Linked DNA regions of Homo sapiens: region 1 is linked to region 2. Evidence: promoter capture Hi-C in 16 types of primary human blood cells and fetal thymus (Javierre and others, 2016). All regions are on one chromosome and are shown on one strand. The core of a region is centred on a gene start or on the middle of the fragment in contact, and the rest is flanking DNA. Distances in the headings are between cores, read along the strand shown. Region 1 holds the start of CNKSR1 (connector enhancer of kinase suppressor of Ras 1). Region 2 holds the start of HMGN2 (high mobility group nucleosomal binding domain 2).

Evidence for each region. Contacts are between HindIII fragments. The CHiCAGO score rates a contact against its expected background, and 5 or more counts as called.
Region 1: a contact is called between the fragment with the promoter of CNKSR1 here and the fragment with the promoter of HMGN2 in region 2, in 2 of 17 cell types (M2 macrophages and total CD4 T cells). The highest score is 6.3, in M2 macrophages.

The regions. Positions count from the first base shown.
Region 1 is chr1:26,174,299-26,181,011 of GRCh38, forward strand. It overlaps CNKSR1 (connector enhancer of kinase suppressor of Ras 1), which reads left to right and starts at 3,193. Exons shown (of 21, transcript NM_006314.3): 1 at 3,193-3,301; 2 at 6,155-6,312; 3 at 6,417-6,598. The coding sequence starts at 3,250. The HindIII fragment of the contact is 21,071 bases long and covers 1-6,713 here.
Region 2 is chr1:26,467,224-26,473,998 of GRCh38, forward strand. It overlaps HMGN2 (high mobility group nucleosomal binding domain 2), which reads left to right and starts at 5,217. Exons shown (of 6, transcript NM_005517.4): 1 at 5,217-5,404; 2 at 6,260-6,304; 3 at 6,480-6,509. The coding sequence starts at 5,390. It overlaps DHDDS (dehydrodolichyl diphosphate synthase subunit), which reads left to right. Exons shown (of 9, transcript NM_205861.3): 9 at 1,672-4,083. The coding sequence ends at 1,908. DHDDS-AS1 (DHDDS antisense RNA 1) reads right to left here and starts at 314. Exons shown (of 3, transcript NR_125953.1): 1 at 1-314. RefSeq lists enhancers at 3,824-4,532, 4,533-5,242 and silencers at 4,612-5,027, 4,912-5,181, 5,442-5,731, 5,772-5,941. The HindIII fragment of the contact is 7,205 bases long and covers 2,881-6,775 here.

The sequences.
Region 1 (6,713 bases), core at 1,943-4,442, 290 kb before region 2:
TTGGGTCTCTGGGTTACAGGTAAGGTCGTGACAGGCTTTGATGACTGGGGGTGCTGCAGAAATTCTGAAGTAGGTGACAACAGGTAGCTCCTCCCCACAGAATTAAAGCAATAATAACTCATATCTACCCCATGATACAGATTTCAAAGTACTTAATGTCATCACAGTGCTAAGGCCTAGGAATCCCCTTCTGGAGACAAAGAAACAGATTCAGAGAGCTGTAGAAGTTGGGCTGAGTCACATAGCAGTTGAGTATGGAACTGATTTTATCTGATTTTTTTTTTTTTTGAGACAGAGTTTTGCTCTTGTTGCCCAGGTTGGAGTGCAGTGGCGCAATCTCGGCTCACTGCAACCTCTGCTTCCGGGTTCAAGCAATTCTCCTGTCTCAGCCTTCCGAGTTGCTGGGATTATAGGCGCCCGCCACCACGACCGGCTAATTTTTTGGATTTTTAGTACAGACAGGGCTTCTCTATGTTGGCCAGGCTGATCTCGAACTCCTGACCTCAGATGATCCACCCGCCTTGGCCTCCCAAAGTGCTGGGATTACAGGCATGAGCCACCGCGCCCGGCCTTTTTTTTTTTGAGGTGGAGTTTCACTTTTGTTGCCCAGGCTGGAGTGCAATGACGCGATCTCAGCTCACCGCTACCTCTACCTCATGAGTTCAAGCAATTCTCCTGCCTCAGCCTCCCGAGTACCTGGGATTACAGGCATGTGCCACCACACCCGGCTAATTTTGTATTTTTAGTAGAGATGGGGTTGCTCCATGTTGGTCAGGCTGGTCTCGAACTCCTGACCTCAGGTGATCCGCCCGCATAGGTCTCCTGAAGTGCTGGGATTACAGGCCTGAGCCACCACGCCCGGCTGATTTTATCTGATTCTAAAGTCCTGGGAGTCCCCTGACCTGATGATGATGATGAAAATGAACATTTACTATGTGTCAGATATTTTTCTAAGATTAAAGCTCTTGCTCTGAGGTTCAGAATTCAGGGGATCCATAAACTTGGATGGGAAAAAATTATATTTTTATTTTTGCTAAACTCTAACCAAAATTTATGATTTCCTTCTATATGGATTGAAGCAGTAGCAGTATCTTTGGCTTAGTCACCAATAGAAATCACATATTTTCATATCAAATTGTAGTTATTGCAAGTATCTCAAAATATTTATGCTCAAGTGATTTCAAAATCACAGTGGTTGTTAAACCACCACTAAATTGTTCGTGAGCAACTTCTGTTTCAGATGCTCCTGTGATGTAGCCGCCATTAATTGGTTACCTCCAGGCTTAGCAGTGGTTCAGTGACCAAAGGGCGAATCTGCCTGTTCTGAGTAGGGCTTCTCCACTCTTCTGCATTCCCTGTCTTTTTTTTTTTTTTTTTGAGACGAAGTCTTGCTCTGTCGCCCAGGCTAGAGTGCAGTGGCGCGAACTCGGCTCACTGCAAGCTCTGCCTCCTGGGTTCACGCCATTCTCCTGCCTCAGCCTCCTGAGTAGCTGGGACTACAGGCGCCCGCCACCATGCCTGGCTAATTTTTTGTATTTTTAGTAGAGACGGGGTTTCACCATGTTAGCCAGGATGGTCTCGATCTCCTGACCTCATAATCCGCCCGTCTCGATTATAGGCGTGAGCCACCATGCCCGGCCCAGCATTCCCTGTTTTTAGTTGTTTGCTGATCAATATGTAAGAGGAGGGGCGTCAAAGACCACCCCACAGTTTAATGTCCTTATTCAAGCTGGTCGACAACACACTGAGGTCATTAAAAAAGAAAAATTTAACTTTCGGCCAGTCTTATTAATGTTAGTAAACACATAATATAAATTTCTGGTTTTATTTTTTTGAGATGGGCTCCTGCTATGTTGCCCAGGGTGGCTTTGACTCCTGGGCTTGAGTGATACTCCCCCGCTCAACCTCTCAACCTCTCGAGTAGCTGGGACTACAGTCGTGTGCCAGCACTCCCCAGCTCCAAATTTTTTTTTTGTTTTTTGTGGGTTTTTTTTTTGAGACGGAGTCTTGCTTTGTTGCCAGGCTGGAGTGCAGAGGCGTGATCTCAGCTCACTGCAACCTCCGCCTCCCAGGTTCAAGCGATTCTCCTGCCTCAGCCTCCTGAGTAGCTGTGACTACAGGCGTGCACCACCACACCCAGCTAATTTTTGTATTTTTAGTAGAGACGGGGTTTCACCATGTTGGGCAGGCTGGTTTCCATCTCTTAACCTCATGATCCACCCGCCTTGGCCTTCCAAAGTGCTGGAATTACAGGCGTGAACCACCATGCCCGGCCAAATTTGTTTTTAAATATAGTTTTGATAATTGTTCTCATTGTAATCCTAAGCATTTTGTTTTGTGCATTTATTTATTTATTTATAATACAGAGTTTTGCTCTGTTGCCCAGGCTGGAGTGCAGTGGCACGATCTTGGCTCACTGGAACCTCCCCCTCCTGGGTTCAAGGGATTCTCCTGCCTCAGCCTCCTGAGTAGCTGGGATTACAAGCACCCACTACGCCCAGCTAATTTTTTGTATTTTTAGTAGAGATGGTGTTTCACCATATTGGCCAGGCTGGTCTTGAACTCCTGATCTCAAGTGATCCGCCCACCTCGGCCTCCCAAAGTGCTGGGATTACAGGCGTGAGCCACCGCGCCCGGCCTGTTTTATGCCTTTATAAGCAGCTATTCTGAGAAAGCATTCACAGGCCTCACCAGATGCCAGAGTCCATACTGCAAAATCCAAGGGAGGCTAAACACCCCAGTTCTAAATGTTTTCAAGCCATTCAGATACTGTGCACAGCTGCCCTTTGAAGTACGGTCTATTATATCTCTTTTACAGACCCAGAAACTGAGGCGCAGAAGTTAGGGTCAGCCCCAGGTCACACAGCTAACAAGAGCTGGCCTAGGCACCCAGGGACCTGGCCCCCTAGCCTCTGTGCTTTGCTACTGATTTCAGCGCTCCTCTTGTGGCTTTTTCTTGAGGAGCCCAAGGGTCAGGGTCCCACCCCGCGATATGAGGCCAGTGGCACTGCCCCCTAGCAGGCGCGAGATGCCAGAGCCCTAGGATGTCTGAAGGGCCGGGCAGGAGGCGGACGGGCGTGGGCCAATGGCTGTCGCAGTGCCTCATCTTGCCGTCTGTGTGAGCCCAGGTATGCAGTAGGCTCCGCCCAGGACCCAGCCCGGCCCCTCCTTAGGCCTGGGCTCTGGGAGCGGAAATTCCGGCGACAGCAGGGCAAAACAGGAGCTGATTCGAGCTGGCAGAGCTGGGCCATGGAACCGGTAGAGACCTGGACCCCCGGAAAGGTGGCAACTTGGCTGAGAGGTGGGTGGGGCTGGGGTAGAGTTGGGCTTGAAGGGGACTAGGTGTGGTGTCCCACCGGGAAGCGGGAGGAGAGGAAAAGGAAAAAAAATCTGCGGACTGGGTGCGCTGGTTCACACCTGTAATCCCAGCACTTTGGGAAGCCAAGGTGGGTGGGTCACCTGAGGTCGGGAGTTCAAGACCAGCATGGTGAAACCCCGTCTCTACTAAAAATACAAAAATTATCTGGGGGTGGTGGCAGGTGCCTGTAATCCCAGCTACTTGGGAGGCTGAGGCAGGAGAATCGCTTGAACCCAGGAGGCAGAGGTTACAGTGAGCCGAGATTGCACCGCTGCACTCCAGTCTGGACGACAGAGCGAGATTCAGCTCAAAAGAAAAAAAAAAATAATAAACTGCGGGCTCTATCAGTCGGTCAGTCAGTCAACAAATATTTACAGAGCACCTAACATGTTCCAGGAACCGTGCTGGGCAGAGAGACAGATGAGATGACCCTGGGGGGCCCAAGGACCCAGAAGGGGGCCCCTCATCATGGCAGTAGCCCAAGAGGCCTCTAGGGTGATAATGGGGAGGCGGTGTCATGAAAACAGGAGGGAGGCCTGACAGGCCCACACCCACTGTATCTCCTTCATCTTCCCTGGCCCCAGGGCCAGTGGGCTGTTGTTAAATCCGTTTCTTAGAGTCAGAAACTGACACACAGAGCCAGGAAATGATTTGCTCAGTCTCTGGTGTCATTTTCCCCGCTCCACACCCTGAGCTCCTAGTGACAGAAGCAGAAGCCCTAGGCCAGACTGAAGAGGTTGACACAGCCCCACCCTGGGGCTCCTATCCAAGGGGCAAGGTGCTGTCCAGGCTCAGCGAGCCCACACAGATGGGAAGCAACACACCCCACAGGCAGACTCAGAGAAGGAAGGGCCTCCTGACACACAGTGCGACCAGGAGCAGGCAGTCAGGACACCCCTCCCAGAGTGGGGAGCTGGAGCGCACTAGAGACAGGCTCAGGAGGACCAGCCCGGGTAAGGGCAGGAATTCAGGGCTGGGTTCAGACTCCCAGGCTGGATTCCAGGCCCACCCCCACCGCTTGCCAGCTCTGTGACCATAGGTCTTAGTTTTTCTGTCCATCAAATGGGAAAGGCAACTCTGACCTTATGAAGTCGACAAAGTGAGACAATCATGACATAGTTCATTTGTAGCTCAATGCCTGGGTCTATTGGGAGGGCACCAGCCCAATACAGTCACCGTGCAGGAAGGAGGTGGCTCAGGGGCCCATAGCCAGGGAGTGATAGGTTCATGAACTCCCAGTCCAGTGCTCTCAATGTGACACAGGGAACACACACACACACCTCCCCCAGTGAAGGAGCCTGGCTTAGAAGGGGAAGAATTCCTTCGAAGAGTGAGCAAGCTACTTAACCTCTGTGTCAGTTTTCCCATCTGTAAGCAGGATAATGATAGTCTTTACCTCCTAGAAATGCAGTGAGAATCAAATGTGTTAATATGTGTAAAGCTCTTATAGATTTGCATAGCACATAGTAAGCCCTCAATAGACACTTTTCTTATTTTTCAGTGCCTACCTTGTCCAGGCACAGGCCGGGGGTTAGAGACAAATGGTTATCTAAGGCCTGATCTTTGAAGAGCCTGTGATAAAATGGGAAAGACCGATGGTCAAGTGCAGGGGTTTGTGGAGGCTCAGGGGCAGTGGGAACAAGAGGAGAGCCCTCCATCCCACTCAGCCTGGGAAGTTATGGAAGGCTTCCTGGAGGAAGTTAGATGAAAAAGGAAGTGAAGGAGATAGAAGAGCAACGCCAGCAGGAGGAATAGCACTTGCAAGGACGCTGAGGTAAAAGGGTGTTCCAGGAGCTGCAAGGAATTAGCTCTGTGCATCTGAAATGTTGAGTTTAGGGGGCTCTTCAGGATATGATGCTGGAAAGGGAGGTAGTAGCCTAATCATACAGGGCCTGTAGGTCATGGTAAAGTCTGGCAATAATAATATGATGGCTATTATTGGCTGTCTCCCACGAACCAGACAGTGGCCAAGGCCTTGACATATGTTGTGTCATTCAATACACACATGATTAGAAGGTAGGTACTTTTATTATTCTCACATTACAGGTGAGAAAACTGGGCACAGAGCAGTGCTATTACTTGCTCAAGTGTTCACAGTGTCTCAGTGACTCCATAGCCTCTTGTTCTTATCCCCTGTATCATTAGTTCTCAAACTTAAGGGAGCATCACAGTCACCTGCATTAAAATACAAACTGCTGGCTGGGCGTCGTGGCTCACACCTGTAATTCTAGCACTTTCAGAGACTGAGGCAGTCAAATTGCTTGAGCCCAGGAGTTCGAGACTAGCCTGGGCAACATGGTGAAATCCCACCTCTGCAAAAAATACAAAAATTAGCTGGGTGTGGTGGTGTGTGCCTGTAGTCCCAGCTACTTGGGAGGCTGAGGTGGGAGGATGGATTGAGCCTAGGAGGTCAAGGCTGCAGTGAGCCGTGACTGTGTCTCAAGCCCCTGTCTCAAAAAGAAAAAACAAAACAAAAACAAAAAAAAGACTGCTGGGCCCCAACCTCAGAGTTTCTGATTCAGCAGGTGTGGGGTGAGGCCTGATAATTTGCATTTCTAACAAGTTCTCCGGTGAGTCTGCTGCTGCTGGTCTGGGGGCCACTTTTAAGAACCCATGTCCTATACTTTCCTGCTTCTCAACTCAGTGGCCTCATCTGTGAAATGGGCAGAACAGCCTGGGTGTCAGAGTTGTCATTAGGGTTAGACTAGAGGGAAAAGAGCTTTGCAGGCATGAAGAACCATCCCAAAAGGTCCTGACACCTCTGCTTCCCCGAGCTGAGCCTTACTCTCCCTCCAGGTCTTGACGACTCCCTGCAGGACTATCCCTTTGAGGACTGGCAGCTGCCTGGCAAGAACCTGCTCCAGCTCTGCCCCCAAAGCCTCGAGGCTCTGGCTGTGCGGTCTCTGGGACACCAGGAGCTCATCCTGGGCGGGGTGGAACAGCTCCAGGCCCTGGTGAGTGAATGCTGGTCACACTGGCTGCAGCTTCCACCAACCTGGGGGGTGTGATGGGGGGCTGGCTGCTGCCAGGGAGGTGACTTGCCCTCTTTCTGGCACAGAGCTCCAGGCTACAGACAGAGAACCTGCAAAGCCTGACAGAGGGACTTCTGGGGGCAACCCATGACTTCCAGAGCATAGTCCAAGGCTGCCTGGGGGACTGTGCCAAGACCCCTATTGATGTCCTCTGTGCAGCTGTGGAGCTGTTGCATGAAGCTGACGCCCTCCTCTTCTGGCTCAGCAGGTACCCGGGTTGGGGTGACGAGTGAGGGACTATTGTCATCCTTGGCCTCCTTCAGGGCGTGGGAGAGAAAAACAGATCTTGGCTCTTGTTCAGATATGGTGAGCCAGGCGTGGTG
Region 2 (6,775 bases), core at 3,967-6,466:
GTAAGCACCTGGATTGCTGGGATCGTGTCCTGCGCATCTCCATATCCTCAAAAAAAATCCTGTATGTAGCACCCAGGGAGCCTCCTGACCAAGGCCTGGAAGAAGCCCTTCCAGCAAGACGGAGAGCTCTACGGCAACTGTTCAAGCCCGAAGTCCTCATAGCTCCACATGTAATTCATTGTAATAGCAGAAGAGAAGTATTCTTGAATGCCTGGGATTATTCAGGAGCCGGGGGGGACAGTCCAGAATTCTCATTTGTCATCCTTATTCATGCAGTAAACCTTTATTGCTGAGAGACAGCAAATCAGTTCCCTGCTCCATGTCTGTCTCCAGCAGAAAGTACCTCCCTCACAGCTCCATTGTGAGGGTCAAGTGAGGCAACAGATGAAGTGGTTGTGCACATGTAAGATATTCTTTAAACCATGAAGACAGAGCAGTCAAGGTGCTTACAGGCTGATTAGGACAAAAACATGTATACAAGTTTATCGTAATACAAGGTAGAATGTGGGAAGGGTCATCAGGGTATAGGATACCATAGGAAAATAGAGTTTCTCACACATGGAATAGGTTTGGCAGGAGGAGCTCTAGTGCAAAGGCTTTGCAGGTCAGTTAGACTGGCAGGAACAGAGAGGATCAGTGAGGCACAGGAAAGCCTTGGTTCTGCTCCAAAGGGATTTTCCGCTCTTCTGTATCAGGAGCATCCTCACTGCTCTCCTGGGATCACGTGGTCAGTCAGTTGAGTGTTTCACATGTACAGGGCACCCCAAGTGCTGGAGAGGAAGAAGCCCAGTCTCTGCCCTCTAGTACTTGGGATGATAACTGCTGCCAGGGAGTATGATCACCACCTGGTGTCAGAGCTGGTTGCAAGAGGCTTGAAGGCTCTCAAACTTCCAAGGGCTTATTTTCTAACAGAAAGAGTGGATTGTGAACACTAACACTTATTCTACTATGCAGAATGCAATAAGTGGCTTAAGAGAGTTGAACCTGCTTCTCAGAATGTTCATAGGGGGGTCATTTGCTGGAAGGATCAGGCTGGTCTTCATACAGGAGGCAAGTCTGGAGCTCTGAAAAATAGCCTAGGGAGTGGGGAGGATGGTACCCTCAGAGGAAAACCTGGGGAGATCAAAGGAAGTGACCCAAGGGACATGTCCCCGACAAGAATAGGACCTTTCTTGCAGCGGAGAATAGACAATAACAACTTGTAAAATTGCTGTTTCTGTCTAAGAGCCTGCTAATATCCTAGAGAGGATTTTGCATATGTTATCTCTAATCCTTAAAACCACTCTTCAAGGTAGGCACAACCCCCACTTTACAGATGAAGAAATGAGGTTAGGACAGGATTTGCCCAAAGACACAAAGCCAGTTGATGGGGGAATCAGAAGTCAGACCCACATTTGTTTGGTTCCAAGAGCATGAGAAAAACTTTAAGAAGTACAGACGCTTCCACACAAAACAAACCAAGATGGACCCAGAATTGCCACTGCCCTGCCTGTACAACATGAGCACCACCCACTGCATACCTACTCCCAAGCCTTTTCAAATCTGGTACCTACTTTCCACTGTTCCACTTCACTTGGCCCACCCTGTGCCCCACCCCCTACCTCCTCCATCCCAGTTTCACCCACTCCTAAAAATGATCTCCCCACCCCAATCCCCACTTTTCTCTAGCAGAAGGCCCGAGACATGTATGCAGAGGAGCGGAAGAGGCAGCAGCTGGAGAGGGACCAGGCTACAGTGACAGAGCAGCTGCTGCGAGAGGGGCTCCAAGCCAGTGGGGACGCCCAGCTCCGAAGGACACGCTTGCACAAACTCTCGGCCAGACGGGAAGAGCGAGTCCAAGGCTTCCTGCAGGCCTTGGAACTCAAGCGAGCTGACTGGCTGGCCCGTCTGGGCACTGCATCAGCCTGAATGAGGCTGGCCACCTGCCACTTTGCCCTGCCCTCTGCCTCCAGGGCTCCACTCCCCTTCCTTTTCTTGGTGAAAGGCACCTCCTTTCCTGATAATGAATGGTGTTCCCTTTGCTTGGCTGGGGAGCCCCCCAGGCCAGGTTTGCTGGCCATAGATACCTTTGGGCTGCCTGGGACAGGCTCCTGAGGAGGATTGAGGGTGAAAGTCTCCCACGAGTACACTAAACCTAGGTCTGGTCACCAATAGGGTTTGGAGAGCAAAGGGCCACAACTCATCAGCTGCCTGTCTCTTAGATGCACTTTCTTTTTCCACCAGCACATCCTTCAACACACAGAATTTCAGGGAAGAGTTCTCCCCAAAACCCTAGCTCTTTACCCTTCCATTTTAGCCTTCCACCCAGCTTCCACAAAAGATTTGGCTCTACCTTGGATCTGCTAGTAAATAACTAATAGGCAGGCAGTTATTTGGGTAAGGAAAAAAGGGGTGGGAGAGACAGAAAATTTGCCCATCTGCTGCTCCTCCCCCTTGGCTCTCCACCTGGGATTTGCTATTGAATCTCTACCCTCTCCCACCACACAGTACTGATTGCTCACTGAAAGACTCAGCACCCCCAATGGTGCGCGGAAGCCAGGCGGGCGATTACAATCCAATTACCTATTGTCGACTCAGCCCACACAAGCTTTTCTCCTCCTCTTGCAGGGCATGGGGCCAGGCTCCACTCCCAAATGAGACTGGCCCCCTCCATGGTTCAGGGTAACAGAAGGGCCTGTAGGCCCTGGTGAACTGAATCCAGCACAGGCCTCCCCTGTAACACAACAGGACTGAGCAGAACCAAACACTTCTTCCAACTGACTCTGCTCCCTGCCCTCACCATCTCAAACTCTGATTCCCACTCCACTCTTCGAGGTTTCTCTCAGCTTTTTGACCTGGCTCCCTAAGTAGGCCCTAGATGATTTATTCTTGGCATGGCAAAGCTTGTTCTAGGTCCTCTGCTTGTGAGGGTCAAAGCTGTGTCCTTTCCCTTACCTCCCTCTGCCAGGACTTGCTGCAGAGCTGCTGAGAGGATTAGTGCCTTTGAAGAGCTGTCTGCCTGAGCAACTCTATTTCAGGTGCCCCACACCGGCAAGTACCAGCCAGCAACACCAACCAAATGCTACTCTCTTTAAAGTCCATTTTCCTTCTTCTTTTTTTTTTTTTTTTTGGAGACAGCATCTCACCCTGTCCTGGCTGGTCTCGAACTCCTGACCTCAGGTGATCCGCCGGCCTCACCCTCCCAAAGTGCTGGGATTACAGGCATGAGCCACCATGCCAGACTTCCCATTTTACTTTCTGCAAGCTGTTTCCCTAGCAGCTCCCTCTAGGGGAGAGGTGAAATCTTGCAAGTTGTAGCAAGAGCACACAGGAAACCCCTAACTTTCCTATACCCCACCCGCCTCTTCCCCTTTCTGTCCCGGGATACCTGGCGGCAAGAGACTTCTTGGCTATTGTCCATGCTCCCAGAATCAAGCATAAATGCCAGACACGGCGATTGAGAAGCCAATCAGTGAACCCTTTGGCAAAGCCCCCATCCACACCTGGCACTCCCCTCTACCAATCCCTGGCACAGGGTTCCTGGAGAGCAGGTGCTGTACATTTTACAGCTTTACAATGGGGCTGTTGACAGCCATAATTAGGGAGGCATGAATTATGCGGCTATAATGCAGAGCCCTACAATTAAGGCGGGAATGAGGGGCTGGAGGCAGCAAACGGAATCTGCCCTATGAGCGTGGCTGTTGAGTCCTGTCTCCTGGGTCTGACTTTCCGTAATATGATTGGGGTACAGTAGAGGTGATTAATGGGGCTGGCATCTCTCTTTGGCCTGAGGTTCTGTATTCTGGGAAAGGTACACAGGGTGGAGTAGGGAGAAGCTGCCCCAGGAGGCGATGTAGTGGTGGAAAGAAGAGGCAGAGAGGTCGTCGTCGTCGCCCAGCAGCAAGGGCTGCAAAATAGTAGAACTCGTGGTTGCTTTGGACAGGTGTGATTTGTGCAAGCCAGGTTCAACCCTTGCCTCAAGAAATCAGATGGGACCAATTTAGTGTCCTTCCACCTGTGAGCCAAGCCCCCATTTGAGGACATCTATCGTATTCTTGTGTGCTGGGTCTCAAATAGAATTTTTAAAGATTCTTAGATGTAAAACTTGTTTGCTAACTGCAACGGAAGAACACCTTCTTTTGCTGCTGCAATTGCCTACCCTCCCTCAGGTGCACTTGGCTAGCTCCAAGACCCTGGCTTTGGACTAGGGGGCACCGGAAGAGCCCTTTTGCCATCACACCACCTGTTCCTCTACTTGTTTCCTAATCCCCGGGCGCTTTCCTCCACCCTCCTTTCCTCGCGCAAGTGAAAGGCAGCCAGCTTGACAGTGTGGAAGGAGGGATTTCGCCAGCTGCGGCTGCAGTGCCCAGGCTTGGTGGCCGCGTCGGGTTGGGCAGCTGGGCAAAATGTCTCCGAGAGGGGTAGAGTGTAGGGGGAAGTGAGTGCTGGTAGACCTCGACGGCCGCTCTCCACCATACTGTGGCGGGGTCTGGAGGTTTGGGAATACAGGGACCTTAAGGGAGCCACCCGAGAGGAGTTGGGGGTGGGGGCTTCGATAGCATTTGGGGAGGCGGCTGCGCAACGGGTGCTGAAAGGACAGCTCCTACCTGACCCACGGCACCCAAAAGGCACCTCTGCATGGAAAGTCTCCCCCTGAAACCCCTAGCCCACCTCGAGTGGGACCGTCTTTCAGGTGAGGTGCACGAAAGGCTTCTCCGAAGTGGCAGCTCGGAAGGATGCACGTCCGGCTGCGCCAAGCTGGTTTCCCCGCCTTTTTCCCACTTTGGCGTCAGCCTGGGCTCTGGGAACTGCAGCCTGTGCCTCCAGCCGCGCGCTTCCTCCTGCTTCCAGAGGAGCAGGGCAGTGCAGCCAGGCCTCGCAAACCCCTCTTCTGGGGCCCCCAGCGGGAGCAGGAAGGAAAGCCGCTGAGATGCGCCGTGAGTGTCGCACGGCTTGGAGAAGTGGGTTGCTGGGTTGCATAAGGTGGAAGGAACTTGCTAGTTTGCAAAAGACAGCTCTTGGCGGGAGCCGGAACCCGGAGCCCGCCGACTCGCGCACCCCTCCTCATTTACTGCCTTCGACGCGCGCCACCCCGACTGCGCCCCCACCCCCTCGGCGCGCCGCCGTCTCCGCGCACTACCCCCCCCACACACCCCCCTCCTCACTCCCTCCAGAGGAGGTGAGTTTAAACCCCGCCCACGTGACCCCAGCTGGGCCAATGAACGGCGGCGGGAGGTGAAATCCGGTTCTAACCGGTCCGGGGCTCCCAGCGCTATAAAAACTTTATAAACCCCCCGGAGCCCGAGCAGTGTGAAGAAGAGGCGAGAACGACCCCCGGACCGACCAAAGCCCGCGCGCCGCTGCATCCCGCGTCCAGCACCTACGTCCCGCTGCCGTCGCCGCCGCCACCATGCCCAAGAGAAAGGTACGTGGCGCGAGGGCCCCAGGCGCCGGGCCACCACTGCCGCCACCGCCGCCGCCGCCTCCCTGGTGCAGGGAGCGAGAATCGGCGCCGAGCAGGAGCCAGCGCAGCCTCCCCGCGCGGGGGCTGGAGACGGTGTCGGGCAGCTCGGGGCTAACCCTGAGCGGCTCGGCTGCCCGCGGGCGCCAGAGGCCATATTGGAGGAGCGGCGGCCGCGGCGGGAGGAGCCATGTTGGCGGCTGTTTATCCCGCTCTCCTCGGGCTCGCCGCCCCCGCCCCGTGCCCCCTCCCCCATCGCGAGGGCCCCTTCCCTCCCCTCCCTGCGGGCGGGCAATTCAAACCCGAAAGGGCGGGAAGGCGGCGCTCGGGGTTGGCGGGCGGGGGAAAGCGCTGCCGCCAAAAAACCGCCGCCGTGAGGGGCGGGGCTTGTGCGGTATGGCCCCGCCCCCTCGCCCACGTTCCCCGCGCACGAGACGCGCGCTGTCGCCGCCCACGAGTTCCCCGGGCTGCGCGCGCCTCCCTCTCCCGCCCTCGACGGCTGCCATAGCAACGGCGCTGGGCTCCGCCTCCGGAGGGGGTTTGTTTGCGCCATCTGCAGCTGTTGCTCCTGCCTGTCGCGGTGGTGCGGGCTCCGCTGCCCTCCCCGGCTGCGCTCCGGTCCAGCCCTCGCTTCTCGGGGTCGGCGAGCCGGAGCTCCTGCGCGCGCTTCGTTCTTATACGAACGTCGGGCTCACTCATTTATGTCCTAGAAAAGTTGTGTGGACGACTGCTTTAATTTTCATTTTTAGCACTCTAAAGTTTGGGAAGTAATTAAGAACCACCTCAAAATCTGCAGTTTTTTGTTCTTGTTTCTTATAGGCTGAAGGGGATGCTAAGGGAGATAAAGCAAAGGTGAAGGACGAAGTAAGTCATTCTCTCTTCAAGGGTCAAAGCCTTGGACTAGCAGAGGCCACTGGACTCGGTGATTAACCGTAACCTGTGTCCTGAATTTACACTCCTATAATCTAGAGCAAATTGATACCAAACTTTCAAAGCGACTTACCTGTCCTATTTCTAACTTTCTCGTTGTCTTTAATAGCCACAGAGAAGATCCGCGAGGTTGTCTGCTGTAAGTGTATGCTTTTGAATTTTCGTGCTTGTCCCTGAAACTAAAAAACATCAAAAAACAATTCCCTTTGCTTCCATGAATTATGGTTAGTGCCTGGTTTTGAATCATTGCCTCTACTTGGGACTCTTGCCCCTTTGGGTTTTGCTGGTTCTGAAATTCTGATGCCTGTAGCCAAAGTGGGACATTTGAGTGGGCTTCTGGAAATCCAACATTCTAGAAGAAAGCCAACCACAAAAACTTTTGAGGAGGAGGAGAAACTTCTCTAC